Regions from separate parts of the Homo sapiens genome. Here all the other regions are linked to region 3. The links are contacts of gene promoters, found by promoter capture Hi-C in blood cells and fetal thymus (Javierre and others, 2016). All regions are on one chromosome and are shown on one strand. Each heading gives the region's core, a stretch centred on a gene start or on the middle of the fragment in contact. The rest is flanking DNA. Distances are from core to core; before and after follow the strand shown. Region 1 holds the start of POLD1 (DNA polymerase delta 1, catalytic subunit). Region 2 overlaps POLD1 (DNA polymerase delta 1, catalytic subunit). Region 3 holds the start of GPR32 (G protein-coupled receptor 32). Region 4 overlaps MYH14 (myosin heavy chain 14). Region 5 overlaps LOC105372437 (a long non-coding RNA gene). Region 6 overlaps KCNC3 (potassium voltage-gated channel subfamily C member 3). Region 7 overlaps MYH14 (myosin heavy chain 14).

Region 1 (2,700 bases), core at 125-2,624, 390 kb after region 3:
CCCATCTCTACTAAAAATACAAAAAATGAGCTGGGCATGGCAGTGGGTGCCGTAATCCCAGCTACTCAGGAGGCTGAGGCACGAGACTCGCCTGAACTCGGGAGGCGGAGGTTGCAATGAGCTGAGTTTGCACCACTGCATTCCAGCCTGGGTGACAGAGCAAGACTCTGTCTCAAAAAAAAAAAAAAAAAAAAGAGAAGACAGTGGCAACAAGTTCCTTCAGTGGAAGGGCTGAGGCGAGGCACTGACATCGCCCTGCCCACTCCTGGCTCCGCTCTAAACCCTGCCCACTCACTCCCCCACTAATCTTTGCCTTCAGAGCGGCAACCCCAACCTGCTTCTCCCTTAGCCTTCCCCATCCAGCCTGCTGCTCAAACCACAAACCCAGGAGTCATCCTGGACTCTTCCCCTTGCTCCTACGCCCAGTCCATCAGCCAGTCCCCCTGTCTCCGCCCGCAAAGGTAACCGGAGCCTGATTCTCTGCCTGCAGGACGCTCTCCCTCCTAACAGATCTCCCTCCTTCCATTCTTATTCCTGCTACAATCCAATTTCCACTCAGTGGTGAGTTTTTCAAAACATGGGGCGAATCGTGTTGTTTCCACGCTCAAACCCTCCCACGGCTCCCCGCTGAACCTAGAATAAAGGAGAAATTCCATACCAAGTTTTACAAGGCCCTATAGGATCTAGTTCCCCATCATGACTCCGACCTCATCTGTGTTTCTCTCGTCCCCTCGGCTCCTGCTACAAATACGCCAAGCTCCTTCCACCTCAGGGCTTTGCACTTGAGGGTCCCAGAGCGGTCGATTCTGGACCACTCCAGCTAAAGCAACAGGCTCTTCGCTCATTATCACGTTACCCTGCGTTAGTTTCCTTCTGAGAGCATCTCACAGCCCCAGAGCACTGCTTTACTGATCTATTAAAACTCATCACTTGTCTACCGTCTGTCTTCCCGAGACAGGGACTTCTCTGACTTGTTCCTGCTTCCAGAAAAGTGCCTGGCACAGAGTACTCAAACACCCAGCGAATCCAGGATGACACCAAGCCCGCACGTGCACCACCCAGTCCCCCCAGCTCCTCCCGGGCCACGTCCCGCCCCACGGTGCCCGGCGCATGCGCCCCCTGCCCGCCGAGGAATTCCACCCCCACCCCGGCCTTTTCCTGCTCGTCCCCGCGCCCTCGCCCAGGAAACCCCTGGCCCCTGCCCTCTCCTGCGCGCCCCCGGGCCAAAGGGTGCCCTCGCAACCGTCTCTCAGATCTATGTGCCTGGCTGCTCAAGCCCCGTTCCCTACCAGGCCCACTGCCCCGAACTCCCTTTTTCCCCTCTACTCACCCGCTTCAAACAGCGTTTCCCGCCACAGCCTACGCCGCCGTGACCCCTGACTCCCGCGCGCGCAAGCCCAGAGCCGCGGCGCTCAGAGACGGGCCACGCCCCCGCCTGCCCAAGTGCGGGCAAGGCCACGCCCCGCTTGTTCGACTGCAGGGCAGGCCCCGCCCCCTCTCTCAGCTTCCGAAGTGGCCTCGCCCCCTTGCTGAAAAATTCCCTTAACTCCGCCTCCCCATGACCTGTCTGCCCGAAGCCACGCCCCTCCGCGCGGCTACCTTCACGACCTCGTGCGGTCTGGGCGCGCCGCGGTTCTGTTCTCTCTCCTCCCACCCTCGGGTGTTGCGCGCGCATCCTCCGCGTCCCCCCGCCCGCCTCTCGCCCGGGGCCGTGTAGGGAGCGCTGCCCCGTCGCTGCCCAGCAGCCAGCTGGTGACCTGACGCCCAAGATCCCCGCAGAGGCTGGCCGATAAGCGGTAGAGTCCTGGCTTGATCTGTTCTCCTTCATCCTAGCTTCAGTTTCCCTATACGTAAATTAGACTCAACAACGCATGATAGGGACACTTGTGGGGCGCCCGGTACACTACTCTTAGGATAAGGTGATCATTGGTAACTACTCTCACTTCCGCTGTTCCCCGCCCCAAATAAATACACCTTTAAGTTGCATCCCTCCATCCAACCCCCCTTTCGCCCTCGATTGGAATTGCTCATTCAGCTCCTTCAGGGCTGGCACAGGGGCAGGAAGGATTGGAGGAACTTCGTCGCTTCGCTCCGAACTCCTGGCGTCTCTCCTTTCAAACTTTGCACGTGCTGTTCCCTCAACTTGGAGGCCCAGCCCCCAGGCTCTTGTTTTAGGTCCCAGCGATTGCCTCTGTTGTGATACCTTCCCTGATTTCCTCTAGCCCCACCACAGTGCCACGCTCATTAAAGTCCCTATCCCCCGAGTCTTGGTAGGAGGATGGTTATCTTGTTCACAGATGTTTCCAGTGCCTAGAATTGTGCCTAACTGTAGTTAATGCTCTGGAAACATTTATTGGGTGAATGTCTCCATCTCTAGAATGGCCAACCCAGTGCCTGGCCCACAGGAGGCCTCAGCAAACACTTGTTGTTCGGACAGAAGTCCAGGTCCCCTCATTCACTTAAATCCTGTTTATCCTTCAAGGGTGAGTTCTGATTCACCTTGTCCAGGGAGGTGACCCTGAGGCTGAGGCCTCTGTCCTGAACTTTCACAGCAGGCGACACACCACCCAACACTGGGACCCTATGTGCCACCCTTTTCCCAACAGCCTGGGGACACCCAGTCCCACCTGCTCAATCAGGTTCGGGCACCCAGTGTCACTGAGGTCCCTAGAAGCCCGCGCCCTCTCCATCTTGCACTCC
Region 2 (2,839 bases), core at 49-2,548, 360 kb after region 3:
CCTGGCCTCTGCTTCAGGGCTAGAGCCTGATGTCCACACAGCCACCCCTTTCCACCAAGGAGGCTGGGGAGGCAGCCGGGGACTGTGAAAGGCAGAGGGGAGTTGGGAGCATGCAGTGAGCGATTCACTTTGTGCAAAGAAAGGTCTGGCTCTTGCCTGGCTCCTGGTAGTCTAAGCCCCTAGAATATCCCGCCTGATAACAGTGTCTCTGTTCCAGCCTGGGCAACATGGCGAGACCCTATCTCTACAAAAAATAACAAAAATAGGTGGCACGTGCCCGCAGTCCCAGCCACTTGGGAGGCTAACGTGGGAGGCTCACCTGAGTCCCGGAGGTTGAGGCTGCAGTGAGCCACGATTGTGCCACTGCGCTCCAGCCTGGGTGAGAGAGTGAGACTCTGTCTCAAAAAAAAAAAAAAAAAAGGTGTTTGTGTACCTGGGACTTTGAACCACACCAGGTAGTTGACACTAACATGGTTTATGGTAGGGCCCTGGGCCATGCAGTATCAGTTTGACCTCTGGGGGTTGCTGAGGGGCCTGGGGATGATGGAGTCACTAAGGCCAGTCACAGGGTGCTCCATGCCTATAGGACTGACACCCAAGAAAAACCCTGGACCCCAAAGCTTGGGTGAGAGCCTCTGGTTGGCAATGCTGCATGTGTGCAGGCACGCATCAAAACTGGGAGGAAGGAGGGCCAGCCTGGCAACTCTACTGGGAGAGCACAACTGGAAGACACGCCTGGTCCCTCCTATACCCTGCCCTGTGCACCTCTTTCTTTTGCTGAGTTTAATCTGTGTCCTTTTGCTGTATTAAATCATAACCATGAGAACCAGCTTTTCTGCTCTCTGAGTACTTCTAGTGAATCACTGAACCTAAGTGGTCTTTGGGACCCCCAGAACTGCGGGTGGGTGGGTGTGTGCAAAGGCCCCACCCACTGAGAATTCATCCAAGCCTTCCACCCAGAGCCCTGTGAAAAGTGGCGCAGTGCCCAGCCAGAGAGGGAGCTCCCCGTGGCTAGAGGTAACCAAGCAGAGCAGCACAACTACTGGCCTGGAATGGGCCAAGACTCAAGTCCCAGGGGAGAAGGCTGGACAGGAAGACCCTTCCGAGGCCCTCATATGCCAGGAGCTGGGGCACTGACCCCAGCTTGGCAATCTCGGAAACTCAGGCCCTCTGTGGTTTCAAAGAATCTGTTTTTCTGTTCAAGCAGCAGAGCTGCCGTGGGTAGGCAGACCGGGACGCTGCCGTGGGGACGGTGAATGGCTTCCCTCCCCACGTCCCTTGGCCTCTGTGTGAGCGTCGCCTATTGAGAGGGGTGAGTCCCGCCCAGCCCCATCACTCCCCGACAGTCCGCACCTCCTGCTTTATCCGGCTGCAAAGCTCGTAGCGCCACTTGTGTCCTAAACACGTTTACACAGACCTGTCAGTGTCCCCACTGGGCTGCAAGATGACAGGGACAGGAGCTCTCATCCATTTTGTTCCCCTCTGTATCCCCAGGGCACAGAGTGAGCCCTGACCACAGTGTGTGCTCAGTAGGCATTTGCTGAGTGAAGGAATGGACCAATTGCTCAAGCCACATTGGCATCCTCTCTCTAGAAGGCCAGTGAGTTGGGGTGCCCAGTCCTCTGGATACAGGTCCCCCACATGGAGCCCTGGTCTCCTACACAGGGGGCCCACCTGCCCCCAGTTGCCTTCCAGGGGCCCGAGTGCCCACCTGTGAGATCTCCAGGCACGGCAACTTGCCCACCTGGGCGCCAGTGAAGCCGTATACGGAGTTGGCGCTCACCTTCAGCGCCAGCTGCCGTCCATCCAGGACCTGGCGCCGGAGGGGGTCTGTCTCCTTGGCCAGCTCGGCCTTGGCCCTGCGAGGGAACACGGGGAAAGCACACTCAGGCGGCACCTGGGCATTGGTCAGGGCTCCTTTCTGGAAGTGAGTGCCATGTACGGTTGGGCGTACTGTGCACTGCACAGAAGCTTCTGGCCAAGGGGGCAAAAGGAAGCTGCCAGGAGGGGATGCCTTGTGCTAATTCACGCACAGCTGAGGGCAGGGTGGCTGGGCAGCCCTGGGGTGTCCCAGTGAGGGACAGGGATTGCCCAGAGGCCCCAACAGGTCTGAGCTCCAAGCAGGCGATCTCCAGGGCTCACCTCTTCCGGGCACTGAGCAGGTTCTCCAGGATCTGGGGCAGCAGCCCCTTCCGCACTGAGGTCTTCACAAACTCGTCCCCGGTGGGGGTCCTGATGAACTGATCCTCAGTCAGGCTGGGTTGGAAGATGTTGGGGTGACTGCCGGCCACCCTCCTGCTCCAGCCCACCTCTGCCCTACGGTCCTGGCCTTGGCCATGAGCACACGCAGGCCCCTCAAGCACCCCTCCACTCCCTACTATCTCTGGGCCTGTGCCTATGCCCCCCACCAGACTGAGCCCCCCAAGGGAAGGCCCAGATGGGCCTCGGGGGACACATGCTGAATTGGGCACTATACCCCAGTTTCTGTGCAGTCCCGGGCCGAAGGAGCGTGGTGTAACACAGGTTGTGGGCCATCATGATGGACGGGTACAGCGAGGAGAAGTCCAGGGTGGCGATGGGGACGTCGTAGTACCTGGGAGGGGAGCAGCCGCGGCCGGGAGTCAGGGCTAGGAGTTCCCATGCCGCCCCCGCCCTGTCTTGTGGCCTCACCCTTTAAAAAAAAAAAATCATTCATTGGCTGGGAGCAGTGCTCGCTCCTGCAATCCCAGCACATTGGGAGGCTGAGGCAGGAGGATCGCTTGAACTCAGGAGTTTCAGATCAGCCTGGGCAACATGGCAAAACCCTATCTCTACAAAAAAATTTTAAAAATTAGCCAGG
Region 3 (2,700 bases), core at 189-2,688:
CCTGGTGACAGAGCAAGACTCTATCTCAAAAAAAAAAGGGGGGGGGGGCGGGGAAGAATGGACACTGGGGAGTAAGTAGCTGTCTCTACCACAGAGCTTTAGATGAGGGGTTGCTGGAAGACTTCCTGAAAGAAGAGGCAGGATTTGGCAGGGTTTTAGAAGCCAGTCAAGGTAAGAGGCCACAAGCAAACTAAGAAGGACGGCTTCCAGCTTCCAGCTGAAGTCTTCCATCATTCCCGGGGGGCGTTGCCACGGGGACAGGATGACAGAAACTCCTCCTCTCCAAACGCCCTCGCCAGGGCAGAAGTCAAAGACTGGAAAAACTTTTCTTGGAAATCTCTGCCAACGAAGACGTAGAGGAAGGGGTTGAGGCTGCTGTTGACACAGCCCAAGGCAAAGCTAGCCTGGAGGATGAGCAGCATCCGGGGGTGGTAGATTTCCTTGAGCATCACCCGTCGCCACAGATGGACCAACAGCACCACGTTAAACGGGGACCAGAAGATAAAGAAAGCGCTCACCAGCACCAGCAGCAGCCTCTTGGGCCGGTTGGCATGGACCCAGCCCTCCCGCAAGAGCTTGGCCCGGATGAGGTGGGCGCAGGTGCCTATGATTGCTAAGGGCCCCAGGAAGCCCAGCAGGAAGTGGCCAATGGTCCCTATAATGTGTCCCTCCACGACCCCTTCAATCCAAATCTGGGCAGTCTCATTGTCAGAGTTGAACGCCAAGTAGCAGTGCGTACAGCCATTCCATTTTCTGGTTGTCCGGAATTTCAGGTGCGCAGAGCACAAGGCGGCGGCCAGGAGCCACACCCCAAAGGCCAGCCAGCTCGCCCGCTGCACAGTGCGGTGGTTCAGGGCCCAGACGGGGTAGAGGACAGAGATGCAACGGTCCACAGAGATGAAGACAAGGAGGCAGTTACTGGCAAAGTAGCTGAGGAACACAAAGGTGATGTAGAGTTTGCAGGCCCACTCTCCGAGGAGCCACTGCCTGGAGACAATATAGTACATGGCAATGGGCAGAGACAGTGAGAGCATGAAATCGGCAAGGGCCAGGTGGAAGAAGCAGACGGTGGAGACCGTGCGTGCCATACGGAAGACAGTCATCCACAGCACCAGCCCATTGCCCAGCACTCCGACGACAATGGACGCAGACAGGATAACCACAGTCAGTGGGCGGAGGGACCCCACCTCCTCAGACAGGCATCCGGAAGAGTTCATCTTCCTGGAACAAGAGCGATCACGTGTCAGGACCCCAGGTTGCCTGTCACTGCAGCCTCTGGTCCCCTCCGAGACCCCATTCATGATTTCTCCATTCCATAATTTTTATGGAATGCTTATTATTATTATTCTTTTAGAGACAGCGTCATGCTCTGTCACCCAGGCTGGAGTGCAAAGGTACAATCACAGATCACTGCAGCCTCCACCTCCTAGGCTCAAGAGATCCTCCCCCCTCAGCCTCCTGGAGTAGCTGGGACTACAGGCACTTACCACCATGCCTGGCTAATTTTTTTACCTTTTTTTTTTTTTTTTTTTTTTGACACAGAGTCTTGCTCTCTCTGTCACCCAGGCTGTAGTGCAATGGTATGATCTCGGCTCACTGCAACCTCCACCTCCAAGGTTCAAGCAATTTTCCTGCCTCAGCCTCCCAAGTAGCTGGAACTACAGGCACATGCCACCACACCTGGCTAATTTTTCTGTTTTTAGTAGAGACAGGGTTTTACCATGTTGGCCAGGCTGGTCTTGAACTACTGACCTCGTGACCCGTCCACCAGCCTCCCAAAGTGCTGGGATTATAGGTGTGAGCCACTCTGCCAGGCCTTAAATTCTTTTTTGTAGAGATGGGGTTTTGCTGTGTTGCCCAGGCTGGTCTTGAACTCCTGGCTTCAAGTGATCCTCCCACCTCAGCCTCCCAAAGTGCTGGGATTACAAGTGTGAGCCATTGAGCCCAGCCTGAATGCTTTTTATGACACAATAATATTGTTCTTTTTTTTTTTTTTTTTTTGAGACAGAGTCTCCTTATGTCACCCAGGCTGCAGTGCAATGGCACGATCTCGGCTCACTGGACACTATAATATTGTTCTAAGTACTGGACATAACTCGTGTAACAAAACAAGCCCTCATGGAACTTACATCCCAGTGAGAGATGTCAGGTGTAATACATATAATAAATTTACTTCATGATATACTGCTTTAGAAGACTACAAGTGTTATGGAAAAATAATAAATGAAATGGAGGGGCCAGGTGTGGTGGCTCATGCTTGTAATCACAACACTTTGGGAGGCTGAGGCAGAAGGATTGCTTGAAGCCAGGAGTTCCAAACCAAGGTGGGCAACATAGTGAGACCGTCTCTACAAAAAATAAATAATTACAAGTTTTTGTGGCCATGCACAGTGGCTCACGCCTGTAATCCCAGCACTTTGGGAGGCTGAGGTAGGCGGATCACCTGAGGTCAGGAGTTCGAGATCAGCCTGCCCAGCATGGCGAAACCCCGTCTCTACTAAAAATACAAAAAACATTAGCTGGGTGTGGTGGCAGCCACCTGTAATCCCAGCTACTCATGAGGCTGAAGAATCACTTAAACTTGGGAGGCGGAGGTTGCAGTGAATCAAGATCGCGCCACTGCACTCCAGCCTGGGTAACGAGAGCGAAACTCCGTCTCAAAAAAATAAAAATAAAATAAAATTTAAAAATTAGCCGTGA
Region 4 (2,700 bases), core at 51-2,550, 510 kb after region 3:
TGGAAGTCCTGCACCCTGGGAAACCCAGACCCAGGCCCACTAGGACAGCTGGTCACCCTGCGGCTAAGTCCAGCCTCTGTGTTGCCAGTCTTACTCTGAACAGGGCCTGCCCTGCCCACAGGGCCCCTCAGGGACTGCAGAACCAAGAAGCCTGGACACCCGGCACCTCCATCCACCTGCTCCTCAGCCCTGCACCCATCCTGGAGGCCCTGACACCTAGAGCCATCTGGTCAACCCCTCCCTGACCCAGTCTCGGCCAACAGGACCCCGGGAGACAGCGTGGCTGCCCACCTGCGAGCCAGGTATCCCCGGGCAGCTGCCTGGAAGGAGACGATGATGTCGGTGACCTTCAGGTCTCGCTCCTCTTCCAGCTGGGCCAGGACCCCAGCCCGGAAGAAGATCTTGCTCTGTCCCACGCGGTAGAGGTTGGGGTCCAGTTCCAGCGCCTGGATCTGTGAGGGGTGGGAGAGGGGTGATGACGGAGAGGGGGTGATGGGGGAGTGGGGGTGGTGAGGAGGGGGAGTAATGGGGGAGGGGGTGGCGAGGAGGGGGAGTGATAGGGAAGGGGTGGTGATTGGGGAGAGGGGGTAATGGGGGAGGGGGTGATGGGGGAGGGAGGTGATGGGGGAGAAGTGATGGGGAGGGGGTGATGAGGAGAGTGATAGGGGAGGGGGTGATGTGAAGAGTGATAGGGGAGGGGAGTTATAGGAAGGGGGTGATGGGGCAGGGGATGATGGGGGGGTGGTGAGGAGGGGCAGTGATTGGGAGGGGGTGGTGATTGGGGAGAGGGGGTGATGGGGGAGGGGGTGATGTGGAGGAGGGTGATAGGGGAGAAGAGTTATAGGGAGGGGGCGATGGGGGAGTGGTGATGGGGAGGGGGTGATGGGGTGACGGGGAGGGGGGTGATAGGGGATGATGAGGAAGCGGGGGTGGGGGCGGTGATAGGGAGAGGTAATGAGGAAGGTCAATGAAGGGGAGATCCCAGCCCCACTCCCCGACCACCTGGGCCCCTGCACACAAACGCATGCACACACACACATGCACACACACGCATGCACACATATGCATGCACACACACACGCACACACGTGCATGCACACACACTTGCACACACACGCATGCACACATATGCATGCACACACACATGCACGCACACTCATGCACGCACACACACACACGCACACACGCATTCCAGGCTCTGCCCCACTCACCATCTTTTCACAGGCCTGCTTCCCATCCATGAAGCCCTTGGGGATGGCATTGGGTGTCAGGATCTCGTATCTGCAATGAGCAGGGAGGGGTGGGGAGGAGAGAGTTACAGCAAACGCTCACCTAGTGCCTGCTGCGGGCCAGGCACTGGGCTCAGAGTGACACACAGCAGGAACAACAGTGACAATAACAAGGACAGTCACAAAACTCACATCTGAGCATTCACGCCACCACCAAGGACAGCAACATCGACAATGATCGACTGTTTCAGTTTTTTGTTTTGTTTGTTTTTTGAGACAGAGTCTCGCTCTGTCGCCCAGGCTGGAGTGCAGTGGTCAGATCTTGCCTCACTGCGACCTCCGCCTCCCAGGTTCAAGCGATTCTCTTGCCTCAGCCTACCAGGTAGCTGGGATTCAGGCATGTGCCACCATGCCCAGCTAATTTTTGTATTTTTAGTAGAGATGGGGTTTCTCCATGATGGCCAGGCTGTCTTGAACTCCTGACCTGAAGTGATCCACCCGCCTCGGCCTCCCAAAGTGCTGGGGTTACAGGCATGAGCCACAGTGCCCAGCCAGTATTGGCCAGTATTTTGGATGTATTGGCTTTAGTAAAATATCTTGTTAAAATTAATTTCATTTTTTTCACTTGTAAAAGTGTAGCTATTAGAAAATGTTCAATTGTGTACAAGGCTTCCCATTCTACTTCTAAGGGACGGTGCTGCTCTACACAGCTTGTGTGAAGCATCATTTTTGTTACATTTGCTGTATTACTTGCTCATTAGGCCTTGGTATTTTCTATTCTGTCCTATTCTACTTCTTTATTTACTTATTTATTTTTTTGAGACAGAGTTTTGCTCTTGTTGCCCAGGCTGGAGTGCAATGGCGCAATCTCGGCTCACTGCAACCTCCCCCTTCCCGGTTCAAGTGATTCTCCTGCCTCAGCCTCCCGAGTAGCTGGGATTACAGGCATGTGCTACCACACCCGGCTAATTTTGTATTTTTAGTAGAGATGGGGTTTCTCCACGTTGGTCAGGCTGGTCTCGAACTTCCGACCTCAGGTGATCTGTCTGCCTCGGCCTCCCAAAGTGCTGGGATTACAGGCGTGAGCCACCGCGCCCCGCCTTCTACTTCATTTTTAAAGACATGCAGATTTGTAACACCATGCAGTGATTTCACGTTCATAGTTTGGGGCCTACTGCCCTAAACAGCAGCAGCAATGTACCCCAGATCCCCATAGACTCTGTGTGCTTTCTCTCAGGAGTGCATCAAGTGGGCTATTGTTCTCCCATACACAGACGAGTAAACTGAGGCTCAGCAAAGTGAGTAATCTGCCTCAACTTCCCCAGCGCAGAAGGAACAAGAGTGGGTGGAGACCTGAATGCAGGTGTGTCGGCTTCCAGACCCGGGTCCCACCCAGCCCCTCCGCCGGGCCTGGGCCCTCGCTCTAGCTCACCGCTGCCGGAACTCCTGGAAGAGGATGCGGTTGGGGAAG
Region 5 (2,700 bases), core at 30-2,529, 430 kb after region 3:
GGCCCAGTATTTTGGGGAAATTGGGCTGGGAACGCCTCCACAAAACTTCACTGTTGCCTTTGACACTGGCTCCTCCAATCTCTGGGTCCCGTCCAGGAGATGCCACTTCTTCAGTGTGCCCTGCTGTGAGCTTCTATGTGGGAGAATAAGGCTGAATGGGGGTGAAGGGAGAAGGCGGGGCTGGGCCTCAGCTTCCCAAAGGTTTTTGAGGAACTGTTCTTTTCTGACACCCTCAAAGGTCAGAAGGTTAAAGGGGCAGAAGGCATTCGGAAAGCTCCCCTCCCACAGTGACACCTCTCTGACTTCTGACCTAGGGTTCCACCACCGCTTCAATCCCAATGCCTCCAGCTCCTTCAAGCCCAGTGGGACCAAGTTTGCCATTCAGTATGGAACTGGGCGGGTAGATGGAATCCTGAGTGAGGACAAGCTGACTGTGAGTGGCCTTTGACTCCAGGAAGCCTCGAGCCTGGGAGAACCCTGTTGTCTAAGATCATCTGGCTTAGGGAGGGGCTTGAGGTGCAGGGGCTTCCTGAGCCGATGGATGGGGCTTCTCAAGGAGGGGGAGGGGTTCCTGGGTGAAGGGATAGGAATTCTCTCAAGTCCAGAGGCAAAGTTTGCTAAGCAGTTGGGGGCTTGGGTCCAGATGTCCCCAGACCTGGGATTAATGCTTTGGTTTGGGAGACCTCAGGACATGTGGTTATTGTCCTCCCAAAAGTAACTGGTCACATCTCAATCTACCCCTAGATTGGTGGAATCAAGGGTGCATCCGTGATTTTCGGGGAAGCTCTGTGGGAATCCAGCCTGGTCTTCACTGTTTCCCGCCCCGATGGGATATTGGGCCTCGGTTTTCCCATTCTGTCTGTGGAAGGAGTTCGGCCCCCGCTGGATGTACTGGTGGAGCAGGGGCTATTGGATAAGCCTGTCTTCTCCTTTTACTTCAACAGGTGCTGGGGAGGGTGCACCTATCTATGAGTCCTATTCCTCAGAAGGAAGTGAGGCCCTCCTTCAGGAAGTCTCTTACTCCATAAAGAAAGTCCCAGTTCAGGCACGGTGGCTCATGCCCGTAATCCCAGCAATTTGGGAGGCTGAGGCAGATTGATCACCTGAAGTCAAGAGTTCCAGACCAGCCTGGCTAACATGGTGAAACCCCATCTGTACTAAAACTATAAAAATTAGCTGGGTGCGGTGGCACATGCCTGTAATCCCAGCTACTTGAGAGGCTGAGGCAGGAGAATTGCTTGAATCCGGGAGGTGGAGGTTGCAGTGAGCCGAGATCGCACCACTGCTCTCCAGTCTGGGTGACAGAGAGAGACCGTCTCCAAAAAAAAAAAAAAAAAAAAAAAATCAATCCCACCCTTCATTCAGGAAGTAGCCACCTACCTAACAGAAGAAACACCTCAACCCTATTCATAAGCCCCAGAGCTTAAGTGACAACTTAAGACATATTAAAGAAACTCACCAACAGTTCAATATGCTGAGTTTCAAAATCAAACTAGGAAATTCTATGCCCCACCCAACCAAATACTCAGGAACCTTCTCTTCACCATAAAGCTCAAATCCCATTTGAGAACACTGACCAGAAGTCAGGAAATGCCTGATTGAATTCACGAAGCCCCACCCACCTGGTAGGAAGGTCAATCTTATGCTCAGAAGTCCCACCCACCACCCGAGAAGTCTTCACTTTCCCTCCCAGGGCCCATCACACACAGTCCAATGCCCACTCAGTTACCCTGACATCCAACCCACTCAAGAAGTTCCACCTAGCTCTCGGTAGGTCCCACTCATTTACATCTTCCAGGAAGTTTCCATCCCCGTTCCCATCACTCTCAGCCAGCTCAGGAAGTCTAACACCTTTCTAGATACCACAACAGGCAATTCAGAAAGTCTATGCACCTTCCCAGGAAGCCACCCCACTCCTGTACAAGTCACACCTTCGAGCCAATTCTGAGACTCCACTGGTCTGCTTGGTTACTATGATATTCAGCTCAGGAATTTCCCCCAAAAGCTCTACCTTCCACAGCCAAATGAAGAAGTCTCCTCTCCACTTCAGGAAGTATCCATCATCCTAAAGTCCTAACTTCCATCAAGAAAAGCACCATTTCCCTTCATTTCTTGTTTCCAGTCCCAACATCTCGGCCCTGCCTGCATTCCACTGCCCCAACTAGAACCCCAAAAATGACCCAATTGGCAGGAAGTCCCATCCCTGGCCATTCCTAGGGCTGGCGGGGGAGGGCTGGCGACAATGACCTCTACACTCTGCCCCTGCAGGGACCCTGAAGTGGCTGATGGAGGAGAGCTGGTCCTGGGGGGCTCAGACCCGGCACACTACATCCCACCCCTCACCTTCGTGCCAGTCACAGTCCCCGCCTACTGGCAGATCCACATGGAGCGGTGAGGGACTTGGTCTCCTGGGTCTGGAGCTGGAGGCCTGGACTCCTAGGACCCTGCCTCTAATGACTGCTTCCTTCCCCCTCAGTGTGAAGGTGGGCTCACGGCTGACTCTCTGTGCCCAGGGCTGTGCTGCCATCCTGGATACAGGCACACCTGTCATCGTAGGACCCACTGAGGAGATCCGGGCCCTGCATGCAGCCATTGGGGGAATCCCCTTGCTGGCTGGGGAGGTGAGGTCCCAGTCTCTGGTGGGTGTGTCCTGGGGAAGATGATGGCAATTCCATGGCGAACACTGCGGCCTGAGGATGG
Region 6 (2,700 bases), core at 199-2,698, 450 kb after region 3:
CACTTCCAGTGCCAAACATCCGCCGACCATCCCAGCATCTGCTCCTCGCAGACATCTTGCCCCACCGCGTGTTCACCGCACCTCACTCTCTCCTTTGTCTCTCTGTCTGACCCCCTTGGGATGCAGATCCTCGCCCCAATGGGGATCCGGCAGCAGCTGCGCTTGCCCACGAGGACTGCCCAGCCATTGACCAGCCTGCCATGTCCCCGGAAGACAAGAGCCCCATCACGCCTGGAAGCCGTGGCCGCTATAGCCGGGACCGAGCCTGCTTCCTCCTCACCGACTATGCCCCTTCCCCTGATGGCTCCATCCGAAAAGGTGAGGTGCCCCCCCTACTGATCCCCTGGGACCCTCCCTCTCTCTCCCCTGCCCAGGGGAGGGAGGAGAGGGGGATGGGGGAGGAGGCGGTGGACTTCCCTTCCCCCTTCCCTTGGCCCCAAACTGCCTCCCTCCCAGATCTTCCCTGTACCCCCGCCCCAAGTTTCCTCACCACTGACCCTTCACCTGTCTTTATTCCATGTCCATTCCCCCCAACTCTCTGGCCTCTTCCCCCACCCCCAGCCACTGGTGCTCCCCCACTGCCCCCCCAAGACTGGCGTAAGCCAGGCCCCCCAAGCTTCTTGCCCGACCTCAACGCCAACGCCGCGGCCTGGATATCCCCCTAGTGGACGAACCCCCTCCCCCCGGGGTAAGTAGCCCCCACCCTCTGATCCCCCGGACCCCCAGACTCCCCACTCCTGCCTGACTAACCCTTCTGAGAACATGCAGCCCCCACTGACCGAGACTTCGGCCCCCTCACTGCAAGCAGCTGCACCCAGTTAACCCCCAGCTCCTGACACTGACCCCACACCCACCTACCCAGGACTCACCCTGCTCCTCACTAACCCCCGAACTAACTCAACCCTGCCTCCCACACTGCACCTGCCCTCACGACCGACCCCATCCTCACCCCCATCAACATCTCTGCCTCCCTCCTTGGTCCTAGGGTTTTTTTTAAAAATTCAATCAGGAAAACGGAGGGCATACCCAGAACACTTCTGGGTGCAGAATGGGGAGAGAAAGGCTCAGCCATCCGTCCATGCCCCTGTGAATTCAGCCAGCGCTTAGACAGCACCCACGCATCCCAGGTACTGGGCATGGGGAGTTCAACCGTGAACAAAAACCATGCCCCCAGGAGCTTCCGCTTTGGAGCAGGAGGCAGACACGGACCTAGAAAGTCATGGTTTGAGGCGATGTATGCTAAAATGGAGGGAGCACAGACAGTGAGAGGAACACTAGAAACTCCCAGGGGATGGGGCCGGGCATCAGGGAAGACTCGATATCTGCAGTGGGGCCTTAAGGTTGAGCAGGAGTTCTGACCACACGCAGAGGAAGAAATCCCATCGACAGGAACGGTTGAAGGGAACCGCAGGACAGAGCTTAGGAGACTAGACTGTGGAGGGAGGATTCTCAGGTAGATATGAGGCAGGCACCGGGCTGAGAGGCTGCCACCTTGTCTAGGGGCTTGGGGAGGAGGCAGGTGAGCTGGGAGGGGCAGCTCTGGGGTCTTGTGAGGATGGACTGGAGGTGGGAGGCTGGAAGTTAGGAGGCTGAGGTGACAGGTGGAAGCGTGAGCTGGGGCCAGGGCTGTGAGGATGGAGAGGAAGGGACGAGGCCGAGAGAGTCGGGGTCAGGGATCAGAAGGGACAGACTGGGGGCTGCCGGCCATGCAGAAGTGAGGGGGATAAGACAGTGGTGCTATTTAGTAGACGAATCATTCAGCAAATATCACCAAGTACCTACCACATGCTAGGAATTTAACATATATTCTTTAATCCTTGTAACAATCCAAGCCAACTCCTAGCTCCTTTCATTCATGTATTCAATCCATTCATTCACTGTTTCAGCAACTGATTCTTTTTTTTTTTTTTTTTTTTTTTGAGACTGTCTTGCTATGTCACCTGGGCTGGAGTGCAATGGTGCAATCTCGGCTCACTGCAACCTCCGCCTCCTGGATTCAAGTGTTGGGGTCTCGCTATGTTGGCCAGGTTGGTCTTGAACTCCTGGGCTCAAGCAGTCCTCCTGCCTTGGCCTCCCGAAGTGCTAAGATTACAGGCATGAGCCACCACCCATGGCCACAACTGATTCTTGAGAACACAGTTGCAGGCACTACAAATTTGGGATAAAACAAAGCGTGAATCTGCCATCACGGTTTACAGTCTCCAGATTGTAAGGGGTCCGCAAACTAACTCCAGCCTGAGGGCCTGATCTTTCAGCATCTGTTTTTGTAAACAAAGCTTTATTGGAACACAACCATGTTAAGCCACGACAGCAGAGTGGAATAATTGGGACAAAGACTATACAGCCCCTATAGCCAAAGAGATTTACTATCTGGCCTTTTACAGGAAAAGTTTCCAGCCGCTCATAGGAAGAAGCAGAAAATAAGCAATTAAGGCTGGGCGGCGGGGGTGGCTCACATCTGTAATCCCAGCACTTTGGGAGGCCGAGGACAGTGGATCACTTGAGGTCAGGAGTTCGAGACCAGCCTGGCCAACATGGTGAAACCCCATCTCTACTAAAAATACAAAAATTAGCCATGCGTGGTGGTGGGCACCTGTAGTCCCAGCTACTTGGGAGGCTGGGGTAGGAGAATCACTTGAACCCGGGAGGTGGAGGTTGCAGTGAGCCAAGATCACACCACTGCACTCCAGCCTGGGCTAC
Region 7 (2,700 bases), core at 99-2,598, 490 kb after region 3:
AGCTGAAAGGAGTGTACAAGGGAACGGGAAGAGGGAGCAGCCAGGAACAGAGAAAGAGAGAGAAAGAGACAGACAAAGGCAGAGACACAAGAGGGAGGTAGAGGGATTAAAGTTGCAACCGTGTCCCAAACCAGCTTAACTCTTGAATGGATCAAACTGATCAGTCCCTAACTCTATATGTTCAACAGAAGAAAGGGCATTCCTTCCTCTTAAGAGTGGCAGTAGAAAAAATACACATATATATATTTTTAAATGTACTTCAACCTTTACTGTTTTTTTTTAAGACACAGTAATTGGCAAATAAACTTATAAAACATGCAAAAAAGAAAAGAGAACAGAACTCATAGTTAAGAGAAAAATCAGTCCATACAAATAGACCCACAGATGACCTACATATTAGAACGTGCACACAAGGACTTCATGATAAGTTTCAGAACGAGACAGATACAATGGGTGAAGAGGCAGTTATTTGAGGAGGGATTTGAAACTGTAAAATAGAACCACATAGAAATGCCAGAACTGAAAAATGAAATATCTGAAATAAAAAAGTCACTGGATGAAATTAGTAGCAGACTGGACACATCAGGAGAATCAGTAAACTTGAAAGCAGGTCAATATAAATTATCCAAACAGAGCAAAGAAAGAAAAAGAAAGAAGATTGTAACAGAAATTAATGGAACTTTAACAACCTGAAAAAAGTACCAAGCAGTCATACATACAAGCATTTGGAGTCCTAGAAGGGTAAAGAAAAGGTAAAGAAAGAAGTAAAACTGCCTTTGTTCACAGAAAACATGATCATCTATGTAGAAAATCCAATGAAATATATAAAAACTATATTAGCACTAGTAAGTGAGTTTAGCCAAGATTGTAGGATACAAGATCAATATACAAAAATCTATTGTTTCTATATACTAGCAATCAAAAATGGAAATGAAAGCAACATCACTTAAAATAGCCATAAAACCATGAAATACTTAGAAATACATCTGGCAGCAGATGTGAAAGATGTACATTGAAAACTAAAAAACATTTCTAAGGTATTTCAATGGACGTATATACCCTCTTCCTCGGTGAGAAAACTCAATATTGTTATGATGTCAGTTCTTCCAAAACCGTTGTATAGATTCAACACAGTTCCAAATTGGAAGGCTTTTTGTTTTGGGGTAGAAATTGACAAACTGATTCTAAAATACATACGGAAATGCAAAGGAACTAGAAGAGGCAAAATAACTTCAAATAAGAAGAAAAGGCTGGTGCAGTGGCTTATGCTTGTAATTCCAGCATATTGGGAGGCTGAGGCAGGCAGATCGCCTGAAGTCAGGAGTTCAAGACCACCTGGCCAACATGGTGAAACCCCATCTCTACTAAAAATACAAAAATTAGCCAGGTGTGGTGGCGCACACCTGTAATCCAAGCCACTCGGGAGGCTGAGGTGGGAGAATTGCTTGAACCCGGGAAGCAGAAGTTGCAGCAAGCCAAGATCACGCCACTGCACTCCAGCCTGGGCAAAAAAAAAAAAAAAAAGAAGAAGAAGAAGAAAAAGAAGGAGGAGAAGAAGAAGAAGAAAAATGACTTTCAATAGATATGCAAAAACAAGTCAGTGGAGAGCAGTGTTGGAATACTTGGATATTTATATTCACAAAAATTAACATGGAGCCATGATAGCATCATATGTAAAAATTAACTCAGAATAAATCACAGACCTAAATGTAAACTTGAAACTGGAAGACTTCCAGAAAAAAAAAACAGGATAGGCCGGGTGCAGTGGCTCATGCCTGTAATCCCAGTGCTTTGGGAGGCCGAGGCAGGTGGATCACAAGGTCAGGAGTTTGAGACTAGCCTGGCCAACATAGTGAAACCCTGTCTTTACTAAAAATAAAAAATAAAAAAAAAATAAAAATAAAAAAATTAGCCGGGTGTGGCGGCATGTGCCTGTAATCCCAGCTACTTGGTAGGCTGAGACAGGAGGAATCGCTTGACCCCAGGAGGCAGAGGTTGCAGTAAGCCAAGATCATGCCACTGCACTCCAGCCCGGGCAACAGTGCAAGACTCCGTCTCAAAAAACAAAACAAACAAACAAACAAAAAGAAAACAAGAAAAAAACCAGGATAAAACCTTTGTGACCTTGAGTTAGGCAAAAATTTCTTATATACAATACTAAAAGCACAATCTATAAAACAACAAATTGATAAATTGGACAAAATTAAAAACTTCTGTTCTTTGAAAGACTCTAACAGAATGGAAAGAAAAGCCACAGACTGGACAAAAATATTTGCAAAGCATATATCTGATAAAGAACTTGCATTTAGAATACATAAATAACTTCTTTCTTTTTTTTTGTTTTTTTTTTGTTTTTTGTTTTGTTTTTTTGAGACAGAGTTTCACTCTTGTTGCCCAGGCTGGAGTGCAATGGCATGATCTCGGCTCACCACAACCTCCGCCTCCCAGATTCAAGCGATTCTCCTGCCTCAGCCTCCCAAGTAGCTGGGATTACAGGCATGCACCACCATGCCTACCTAATTTTGTATTTTTAGTAGAGACGGGGTTTCTCCATGTTGGTCAGGCTGGTCTCAAACTCCCAACCTCAGGTGATCTGCCTGCCTTGGCCTCCCAAAGTGCTGGGATTACCAGGCATGAGCCACCGTGCCCGGCCCATAAAGAATTTTCAAAATTCAATAATAGTAAAACAAACAACATTAA

Evidence for each region. The method cuts DNA at HindIII sites, captures the fragments that hold promoters and counts their contacts. A CHiCAGO score of 5 or more calls a contact.
Region 1: the fragment with the promoter of POLD1 here is called in contact with the fragment with the promoter of GPR32 in region 3 in 7 of 17 cell types (total B cells, activated CD4 T cells, naive B cells and 4 more); the score reaches 8.5 in total B cells.
Region 2: a contact is called between a fragment that was not itself captured here and the fragment with the promoter of GPR32 in region 3, in 4 of 17 cell types (naive CD4 T cells, naive B cells, total B cells and 1 more). The highest score is 6.7, in naive CD4 T cells.
Region 4: a contact is called between a fragment that was not itself captured here and the fragment with the promoter of GPR32 in region 3, in 9 of 17 cell types (total B cells, activated CD4 T cells, naive B cells and 6 more). The highest score is 17.3, in total B cells.
Region 5: a contact is called between a fragment that was not itself captured here and the fragment with the promoter of GPR32 in region 3, in 8 of 17 cell types (naive CD8 T cells, naive CD4 T cells, non-activated CD4 T cells and 5 more). The highest score is 10.0, in naive CD8 T cells.
Region 6: a fragment that was not itself captured here is called in contact with the fragment with the promoter of GPR32 in region 3 in 5 of 17 cell types (total B cells, naive B cells, total CD8 T cells and 2 more); the score reaches 10.5 in total B cells.
Region 7: a fragment that was not itself captured here is called in contact with the fragment with the promoter of GPR32 in region 3 in 1 of 17 cell types (naive B cells); the score reaches 5.2 in naive B cells.

What each region holds. Positions count from the first base shown.
Region 1 is chr19:50,383,021-50,385,720 of GRCh38, reverse strand. It overlaps POLD1 (DNA polymerase delta 1, catalytic subunit), which reads right to left and starts at 1,374. Exons shown (of 27, transcript NM_002691.4): 1 at 1,331-1,374. NR1H2 (nuclear receptor subfamily 1 group H member 2) reads right to left here. Exons shown (of 10, transcript NM_007121.7): 10 at 2,333-2,700. RefSeq lists an enhancer at 140-641 and silencers at 1,361-1,450, 1,481-1,600, 1,611-1,710. The HindIII fragment of the contact is 22,211 bases long and covers 1-2,700 here.
Region 2 is chr19:50,408,539-50,411,377 of GRCh38, reverse strand. POLD1 (DNA polymerase delta 1, catalytic subunit) reads right to left here. Exons shown (of 27, transcript NM_002691.4): 15 at 2,477-2,593; 16 at 2,143-2,256; 17 at 1,712-1,859. Among named protein-coding and RNA genes, the nearest start is that of SPIB, 9.0 kb to the left of the region's middle. The HindIII fragment of the contact is 1,351 bases long and covers 623-1,973 here.
Region 3 is chr19:50,769,202-50,771,901 of GRCh38, reverse strand. GPR32 (G protein-coupled receptor 32) reads right to left here and starts at 1,438. Exons shown (of 1, transcript NM_001506.2): 1 at 170-1,438. The coding sequence starts at 1,301. The coding sequence ends at 231. The HindIII fragment of the contact is 17,473 bases long and covers 1-2,700 here.
Region 4 is chr19:50,259,227-50,261,926 of GRCh38, reverse strand. It overlaps MYH14 (myosin heavy chain 14), which reads right to left. Exons shown (of 43, transcript NM_001145809.2): 19 at 2,662-2,700; 20 at 1,212-1,281; 21 at 292-452. Among named protein-coding and RNA genes, the nearest start is that of MYH14, 57 kb to the right of the region's middle. The HindIII fragment of the contact is 3,099 bases long and covers 1-2,700 here.
Region 5 is chr19:50,334,750-50,337,449 of GRCh38, reverse strand. The region is part of intron 1 of LOC105372437 (a long non-coding RNA gene); the gene reads right to left. It also overlaps the pseudogene NAPSB. Among named protein-coding and RNA genes, the nearest start is that of KCNC3, 6.7 kb to the right of the region's middle. The HindIII fragment of the contact is 4,846 bases long and covers 1-2,700 here.
Region 6 is chr19:50,318,211-50,320,910 of GRCh38, reverse strand. KCNC3 (potassium voltage-gated channel subfamily C member 3) reads left to right here. Exons shown (of 5, transcript NM_004977.3): 3 at 127-318; 4 at 562-688. The coding sequence ends at 665. Among named protein-coding and RNA genes, the nearest start is that of KCNC3, 9.8 kb to the left of the region's middle. The HindIII fragment of the contact is 1,660 bases long and covers 619-2,278 here.
Region 7 is chr19:50,283,743-50,286,442 of GRCh38, reverse strand. The region is part of intron 33 of MYH14 (myosin heavy chain 14); the gene reads right to left. Among named protein-coding and RNA genes, the nearest start is that of KCNC3, 44 kb to the left of the region's middle. The HindIII fragment of the contact is 2,770 bases long and covers 1-2,700 here.